3 separate regions of the Homo sapiens genome follow, and all the other regions are linked to region 2. Evidence: promoter capture Hi-C in 16 types of primary human blood cells and fetal thymus (Javierre and others, 2016). All regions are on one chromosome and are shown on one strand. Each heading gives the region's core, a stretch centred on a gene start or on the middle of the fragment in contact. The rest is flanking DNA. Distances are from core to core; before and after follow the strand shown.

The links. Contacts are between HindIII fragments. The CHiCAGO score rates a contact against its expected background, and 5 or more counts as called.
Region 1: a contact is called between a fragment that was not itself captured here and the fragment with the promoter of STIM1 in region 2, in 1 of 17 cell types (total CD4 T cells). The highest score is 5.0, in total CD4 T cells.
Region 3: a contact is called between a fragment that was not itself captured here and the fragment with the promoter of STIM1 in region 2, in 1 of 17 cell types (non-activated CD4 T cells). The highest score is 5.7, in non-activated CD4 T cells.

Annotation. Positions count from the first base shown.
Region 1 is chr11:4,145,720-4,148,421 of GRCh38, reverse strand. It overlaps the pseudogene OR55B1P. Among named protein-coding and RNA genes, the nearest start is that of LINC02749, 40 kb to the left of the region's middle. The HindIII fragment of the contact is 2,302 bases long and covers 243-2,544 here.
Region 2 is chr11:3,854,375-3,857,074 of GRCh38, reverse strand. STIM1 (stromal interaction molecule 1) reads right to left here and starts at 1,411. Exons shown (of 13, transcript NM_001382567.1): 1 at 666-1,411. The coding sequence starts at 804. STIM1-AS1 (STIM1 antisense RNA 1) reads left to right here and starts at 1,497. Exons shown (of 2, transcript NR_183662.1): 1 at 1,497-1,718; 2 at 2,417-2,700. MIR4687 (microRNA 4687) reads right to left here and starts at 1,013; the gene lies at 934-1,013. RefSeq lists enhancers at 496-545, 556-635, 786-995, 1,211-2,156, 2,366-2,435 and silencers at 1,216-1,375, 1,436-1,495, 1,976-2,025. The HindIII fragment of the contact is 6,805 bases long and covers 1-2,700 here.
Region 3 is chr11:4,124,579-4,127,278 of GRCh38, reverse strand. RRM1 (ribonucleotide reductase catalytic subunit M1) reads right to left here. Exons shown (of 19, transcript NM_001033.5): 13 at 446-595; 14 at 23-244. Among named protein-coding and RNA genes, the nearest start is that of RRM1, 31 kb to the right of the region's middle. The HindIII fragment of the contact is 4,129 bases long and covers 1-2,700 here.

The DNA.
Region 1 (2,702 bases), core at 144-2,643, 290 kb before region 2:
ATGCTAACTCTTCATATTGCTGCTGAGATTCAGAATGCTTGAAGTGACCAGGCGCAGTGGCTCATGCCTGGGAGGCTGAGGCAAGAGGGCTGCTTGAGTCCAGGAGTTCAAAAACAGCCTGGGCAAAATAGCAAGACCCTACCTCTTAAAAAAAAAAAAAAAAAAAGCTTGAAGACTGTTGAATGCTGCCTAGTTTGTGGAGTATCAGGTATGTAGAACAGTCCTGGCCCCTGGCCAAAGCTTTGAAACAACTGCTGTAAGATCCCAATTAAATGTTCAGCCTCCTATTGTCTTCTTCCTGTTCCTCATGCACCTACTCAACAAGCAATTCTCAAGCCTGTCCTGCGCCTCTATGGTGACTCTGTGCTTGGAGCTCCAGTGAGCCCACCAGAAGCATGCTATTATCCCTGCCCTCCTGGAACCTACATTCTGAAAGGAAAGCAAACTCATCATCCATGACACTGAGGACAAGGCCAGGCAGCAGGCACCACAGCCAATCTACGAGGACTTAGGAAGGAAGCAGTCTCTGCAGCCTGTTTCTTGTGATCCAGGAAGACCAGAATTCTTCCTCAGCAACTTCCATCTCTCCTTGCCACAGTGTGTCCCAAGCACACAAGTGATGCCATCATTCCCGGCTGGTTCTTCTCTCCCTGTTAAGCCCCACTTGGGCCTTCCCAGACTCCTTGGATCAAAGATTCTTCTAATACTTTCTCTTCCTCTGAATCAAGAGTCTTCTTTTAACCTTTCTTGTTTTGTCTCTGGCTGTCACTCTTTTTCCCCTGTGTATACTACACCTACTTCTCCTCCTAATCTTTTACTGAGCAAATATCTGGAACATTACAAGTAAACAAGTATCTTGTAAGTTTACATTTACATTTCACACACATGAGGCCAAGAGCTCCCTGAGGACAAAGATTGTTACCTACAAAGATTGTAGGTAACTGTGTAGTTCCTACAACACCCGGCTTAGTACTTATCTGTGCCCCAAAGGAATACATACATGAAGAAGTAGGCTTTTATCACAAATTCCTCAGTGTCTACAACAGAAAAAGTCTTTTTAAAATTGACCATTTTGTTCTAACAGTCTCTGATCCCCACTCTTGGTGCCGGCCCAGGGCCAAAGCTAATGGGTGAGGATGGAAATACAAGCACCTTCAACATCTCCTGCACCAAGTTCTTCCTGGTGGGTTTCCCTGGACTTCGAGAGTGGTGGCCCCTTCTGGTCCTGCCTCTTGTCTTCCTCTTTGTGACCATCATCTCTGCCAATGCCCTGGTCATCCACACAGTGGTTGCCCGGCAAAATCTGCATCAGCCTACGTGTATGCTCATCACTGTGCTCCTGGCTGTCAATATTCGTGCTGCCACAGCCGTGATGCCTAAAATGCTGGAGGGCTTTGTATATTATGCTAACCCCATATCGCTGCATGGCCGCCTGGCCTAGGTGTTCTTTATCTACTTCACCCTCCTCCTGGACTACAACTTCCTCTGGCCATGGCCCTGGACTGCTACGTAGCCATCTGCCACCCACTCTGCTATTCTGACCTGATGACCTCCCAGCTGCTGGGACTGCTGGCCATTCTTGCCTTGACACAGAGCCTGGGAGTGACAGTGCCCTTGGTAGTACTAACTGCAAAAGCCCGATTCTGCCGGACAGCAGTGATTCGACACTTCACCTGTGAGTGCATTGCACTGCTGAGCATAGCTTGTGGAGACCTGACCTTCAACAACTGGCTGGGGCTGGCTATGTGTTTGGTCACTGTAATCTCTGATATGGCCCTGCTGGGGACCTCCTACACCCACATCATCTATGCTGCCTTCCGGATCTCTTCTTGGGGAGCCCAAGCCAAGGCCTTACACACGTGTGGCTCCCACCTACTGGTCATCCTCTCCATCTACGTCTCTGGTCTTTCCACTTCCATCACCTTCTGAGTAGCCAAGACTGTGTCCCAGAATGTCCAGAATCTACTCAGTGCCATATACTTGCTGCTTCCAGGAGCCTTGAATCCTGTCATTTATGGGGTGAGGACTAGGGAGATCCAGCAACATGTAGAAAAGATGCTCTGTGAAAAGGAAACAGCCCAGAAGGCTGGGGAGAAGCCAAAGAGGCTGCAGAACATGAGACTGGAAACCGCCAGGGTGAGGGACTTTACTACCTTCGAAAGTTGGGGCTATGATCTCTGAGAAGAGATAAGCAGGCAGTACTCAGGGACAGGCTCAAATTTCCTCAGCAGATTACGGGCTCAACAGCAGGTTCCCTGTTGGTCAACTGTTGCTTGTTAAATTCTTAGAATGCTCTTTGTTTTCACCCCCAGTAATAAAATTGCATTTACCTATTTATCCTTCTTGGTTTATTTTCTCTGTCCTCCTCCCAACTCCTGAGGAAGTCCCAACTAATATCTGGATGTATGGGGCTTCACTAAGGTAGTCTTATAGAGCAAGTCATACAGACCACAACCTGCCCTGTCTGAACAACACCCAGTCTGAAACAAATAAACAGGCGGGCACTTCCCTGAAGCCCAGTCTCTCCCAAACATAGCCTAAGCTTGACATGAAGTTTATTCAGACCTAATACACAGGTCATCCTTGAGGCTTCCAGTCTAATCCAGGTAGCAGGCTGGGTTCTAGAGTCCAGTCAGTCCCAAACACAAGTGAGGTCCTTTCCTGAGATCCCCAAGCTGTACAGGCACATAGGTCAGGTTTAC
Region 2 (2,700 bases), core at 162-2,661:
CTCATCAGTCAGAAGAAACAGAATAAGTCAACAAGTGGTCCCAGGAATTATATCATGTCTATGTCAAGAAAAGGCCATTTAACACCCTAGTTGTAAATAGGATTCCATCTAAGAAACCGCCTGGATATTTCAAATGCGCACAGCAAAGAGACAAGACTACCTAAGGGAAGGGTGGGACTAGGGTTCCCACGGTTGTTGGAATAGGCACACCTGAACACCAGGCTTTCAGGCAACAGAGGTGGCCCAGCCTTAACTTTCCCTTTCCAACATAAGTGGCCCCAACCTCCCCCATGCTGCTCAGTACTAAAACCGAATAGGAGCAATGAACTTATCATCTCACCAGGCCATTCTTCCAGACAAGTAGGCCTAAGATGGGGTCTTTCCTTGCTGATCTAAAAGGTCAAGTTGCCCCAAAGGCTTCTTCTTACTGCCAACAAAAAAAATCCTGAGTGCGGGGGATGAGGAAAGTTGTTCAGGAAAGATACAGGCATTTGCCATGACTACTGACCAGAAAGAACTTCTTGAACTACTTGGAACAGGCAGTGCCATGTGTGAATCCTCCATGAACCTCACATGTACAAACCTAGATTTCAACTTGCCCACTTCGGGCCACTCAGTCCTGAGCCAAAGCCTCCAGCCCAGTCCAGCCCGCAGCAAGGCCTTACCTGCTGCAGTGGACTCCTCAGAGTTGGCCCCCGAGCTGGTTCCTGTCGCCTTCTCACTGTGACTATGGCTGAGGCTCTGGCCCTGGTGCAGGAGGAGTCCCCAGAGGAGCCACAGGGCAAGACGGACGCATACATCCATGACTCTAGGTCTCAGTCAACATGCGTCTGATGTGGACACCTCGGGATCCCAGAGGCAAAGCCAGGAGCCCGGGAGTGCAGCCGACGGTCTCCAGGCAAGATGCCCTCGCGGCTCCGCAGCTGTCCAGCCACCCGCGAGCCTGCCCCCTCCAACAGCCAAAGGTCAAGTGCTCCAAGTTTGGGTGCGGGAGGAGGGCTGGCTCCTCAGGTCCAACAGTGGGTCCGCCGGGGCTGCGGCGGCCTGAGCTCGTGCCGCTTCCGGAGACTTCGGGCAGGGTGGCTGCGGGGCTGCTGTCAGCTCCGCAGATTACTACACCCCTGCGGAAGGGGGCGGCCGGAGTCTCCGCGGGCACAGAAGTGGAGGAGGAAGAGAAGAGAAGAGAAGAGAGGCGAGAAGGGGGCACCTGACCTCGCCCTGCCGAAGAGCGGCGAGCAGCAGAAGCTGGGGAGGGCGTGCGACCCGCAGGGTCCTGAGGGCGCGGGCGTCTCCGGGATCCTGGGCCTCCTAGGCCGAGGTCAGCGCCCCCGCCCAGTCCCGTGCCCAGGCGGCTGGCGGTGCCCAGGTCCAGCAGGCGGACGCACACCGGCCAGGCCCAGGACAGCGGCTTCCAGGCGGGCGGGCGGCGCGGGGCGGGCCCGGGGCGGGCGGGGGCGTGCGTCTCCGCGCCCGCCCCGCGCCGCCCGGTCCCCAGCGAAGCCCGGGCCAGCCCCAGCGCCCAGCTGGATCCCGGAATAACCGGTGAAGACGGCTCCCCGGAATCCCCGCCCCTAGCGGGCTCTCCCGGACCCCCGGCCCGCGCTAGTCTTTGCCAGGATCCCGCGCAAAGGATCAAGTCCCAGCTTCCCTTTCCCCACCGAGAGTCTCCAGCGCCAACCGCGGGCCGTCGGGCGGGTCCCTGACCCGCAGTTACTCAGGTAACTCAGGCCTGCGGCGGCGGCGACAGCAGCTGCCCTGCCCCGATCTCCGGGCCTTGGTGCTGCTCCACTCGCCTCAGTTCTAGAGCTGTCTAAACAGAGGCCCAGGACACGACGTTAGCCTCCCAGGAGCTGCCTGAGGCGACAACAGCCTGACCCGGCTCGGCCCGGGGGCGAGCTCCCAGCCCCCAACTCCCGGCCAGTTCCCAGGCTCCGCCCTCGCGCCTCGCCTGACAACCAATCGGCTTCCGCCTCTCTGCGGCTTGGGAACCCGCGCGCTTCGTCGCCCATGCGCAGCGGCCCCTGGTGGGAAAATCAGCAAACTGCAGACAGGACTCGGCGCTCCTGGGAGGGCCTGCTCTTTTGCAGAGGGTTGCCGAGTGAAGCTAAGACCCGCCCCGGGGGAGGCCCACGAGGGCCACTGGGGCCTGCGAGTGTTTTCTGAGGAAATGATGATGCCAGAAAGCAAAATGAAATGTCCAAACCACTCTAGCTAAAATTCCCCTACACATTCCTTGAGTCTGGGCTAAAGGGTGCCATCTGCTTTCCCGACCCCGCCTCCCTTCCCCTCCAAGCTAAGTGGGATGCCCTCCCTTAGCTCTCACAGCCCTTTTTCCTACCTGCCCTCAAGCTCTCAGCCCTTTAAGGTTTTTCGGTGGGGCCTGTAAATGCTTCCTCCCTGCATCTCATTCTCCCAGCTACCTCTCTGGTGGAGGAGGTGTCAGCGACTTGAGAATGAGTGCGCCAAAGAAGACAGAGCCACGCCTGAGCCTCCTTCAACAAAGCCTGCACTTCCTGTTCTCTTCTCAAGCGTGCTGTCAGCAGATCTTGACTGAAACCTCTGTGCCCTACCCTGTCCTTGGCACCAGACGCAGGGGAAAGGATCAGGCCCAGTCCCTCCTCTGACTGACAGTGCTAAACCAGCTACCTGTTCTGAGCAAGGCCCCTGAAGACTGGGAACACGAATTTGCCCAACAGCTGC
Region 3 (2,700 bases), core at 111-2,610, 270 kb before region 2:
ACAATTCCATCCATATACTTACTCCTTTGCTAACTGGAGAGCCCTCATAGGTTTCGTATGGGCCCTGCTCCTTGGCAAGGTCACAGCTGGCTTCCAGAGCACCATAATAAATAGTTTCAAAGATCTGCTTATTCAGTAACTGGGCTTCTGCACTCTCAAAAGGGTATCTCATCAGGATAAAAGCATCTGCCAGACCTTGTACCCCAATTCCAATGGGGCGATGGCGTTTATTTGATAGGCATGCCTTTGTGTCAACAGATTTTAAAGAAAAGGAGAAAACATTACTGAACAGGAAAAGCAACATTCTGTACCAAATGAGACAGACTACCTCTTTTTCTCAAACCATTTTATTGATAACCATTTAAATGATGACTTGAAGATCATGATTGATTCCTTTCAATTTGGATTTCAATAATTACCAATAAGCAGAGAAATCTATTCATACCTCTGGTACAGGATAGTAGTTTATATCAATAATTTTATTCAAGTTTCGGACAACGACTTTAGTGACTTCAGCCAACTTCTTAAAGTCGTATGTGTGTTCTGATGTGACATACATATTCAGGGCCAGGGAAGCCAAATTACAAACAGCAACCTGGAATGCAAAAAACAGGTCAAGAATCACACAATTTTTATTTCTACTTCCTGTGTCAATTACACCACCATGTGAGCCTCTAATACTCAGACATTAAAATTTTAAATTTTTATATTTGACTTCTCCCTCTTCATCATTCATCAGTCCATTTCTAAATCCCACTGATTCTATTTCTTCAATACCTAGTCATATGTGTTAGTTATAACATGCATCAGCAAAATAGGTAAGAGAGAGAGAGAACCCTATGTTCCACAGTACACAGCTCTATTACCAGACATATATCACACTATGTTATAATTAGCTTTTTACATATACCTATCTCATTATTCAGTAGATGAGTGCCCTGCAATATGGTAGCCACTGGCTACATATATCTATTTAAAATGAAATAAAATTTGAGTTTCTCAGTTGCACTAGTCATATTTCAAGTGCTCAATAGCCATCAGATACAGAACATTTCCATCACTGCAGAGTTCTTCAAAACACACACGTCCACCTCACCTTCACTGATATTCTGACAAGCCCTTAGCAACAATGGATCTCAATTTGTGATTTCTGAAAAAGCTCTTCCAGTGATTTCTCCACTACACGAGGCAGTGAGCTTCTTCACACAAGGATCATCTTATTTATATTTATATGTTTAGCACTAGCAACACATCTGGCACACAGTAAGTCTTGATAATGTTGAATGAATACACTTTCTTTTCCATTTTGATTATGACTATCCCAAGCCAAAGTCTTAACTTCTCTCACATGGACTACTGAAAGTTTCCCAGTTGAACTCTTGATGCCCTTCACATCTACTCCATTCTACACATGTTGCCAAATACCCATTTTTTTAAATATAGCTTGAATCACAGAAGTCTAATAAATGCCAGGAAGAAAAATAGGCAGGAAAAGAAGACAGAGAGTACTGGGGATAAAGATGAAGGGGGTATAATTTTTAAACAGAATTGTCAAGAAGGACCTCATTGAAAATGTTACATATGAACAAAGAACTGAACAGGTTAGAAAGCAAATCATGTGGCTATGGGAAGAGGGGGTGCATTTTAACATTCAAGAGGGAAGAAGGAGCAAAAATCCTGAGGTAGGAGCATGGTTGACATGTTTGAGAAAAAGCAAGAAAATTAATAGGGTTGGAGCAAAGTGAACAAAGGGGAAAGTAACCGCAGATGAGGTGGGTTATCCAGTTGTGTAGGACCTTGTAGGGCACTGTAAGAACTCTGGATGGAAAGGAATGAAGTACTGATACATGCTACAACATGAATAAAAGAACATGTTAAGTGAAAGAAGCCTGACACAAAAGGCCACATATTATATGACTCCATTCCTATGGAATGTCCACAATGTCCACAAATCTAGAGACAGAAAATATATTAGTGGTTGTCAAGGGCTGAGGGAAGAAGGGAACAGGGAGTGACTGCTAATGGATAAAGGGTTTCATTATCTACAGTGATAAAAATGTACTACAGGCCGGTCACGGTGGCTCACGCCTGTAATCCCAACACTTTGGGAGGCTGAGGTGGGCGGATCACGAGGTCAAGAGATTGAGACCATCCTGGCCAACATAGTGAAACCTCGTCCCTACTAAAAATACAAAAATTAGCTGGGTGTGGTGGCACGCGCCTGTAGTCCCAGCTACTCGGGAGGCTGAGGCAGGAGAATCGCTTGAATCCAGGAGGCGGAGGTTGCAGTGAGCCGAGATCGAGCCACTACACTCCAGCCTGGTGACAGAGCAAGACTCTGTCTCAAAAAAAAAAAAATAAAATAAATAAATACTACAATTAGATAGTGGTAATGGTTGCACAGACTTGCAGATATACTAAAAAAAAGAAAAGAAAAGAAAAGAAAAAAAACACTGAATTGTACATTTTAAAAAGAGTGAATTATAGCTCAATTTGCAAAAAGAAAGAACTCTGTTGAGGTTGCAGTGAGCCACAGCCCAGCTTGGGCAACAGAGTGAAATCTTGACGCCCCCCGAAAAAAAAGGAATTCTGCATGGGTTAGCAAGCCAAAGAGTAGTTTTGTGCAGACAAATGACATTATCTGATTTTTATTTTAAAAATGTCACTCTAGCCTCTATAATATAATCTGTCTTGCATAAT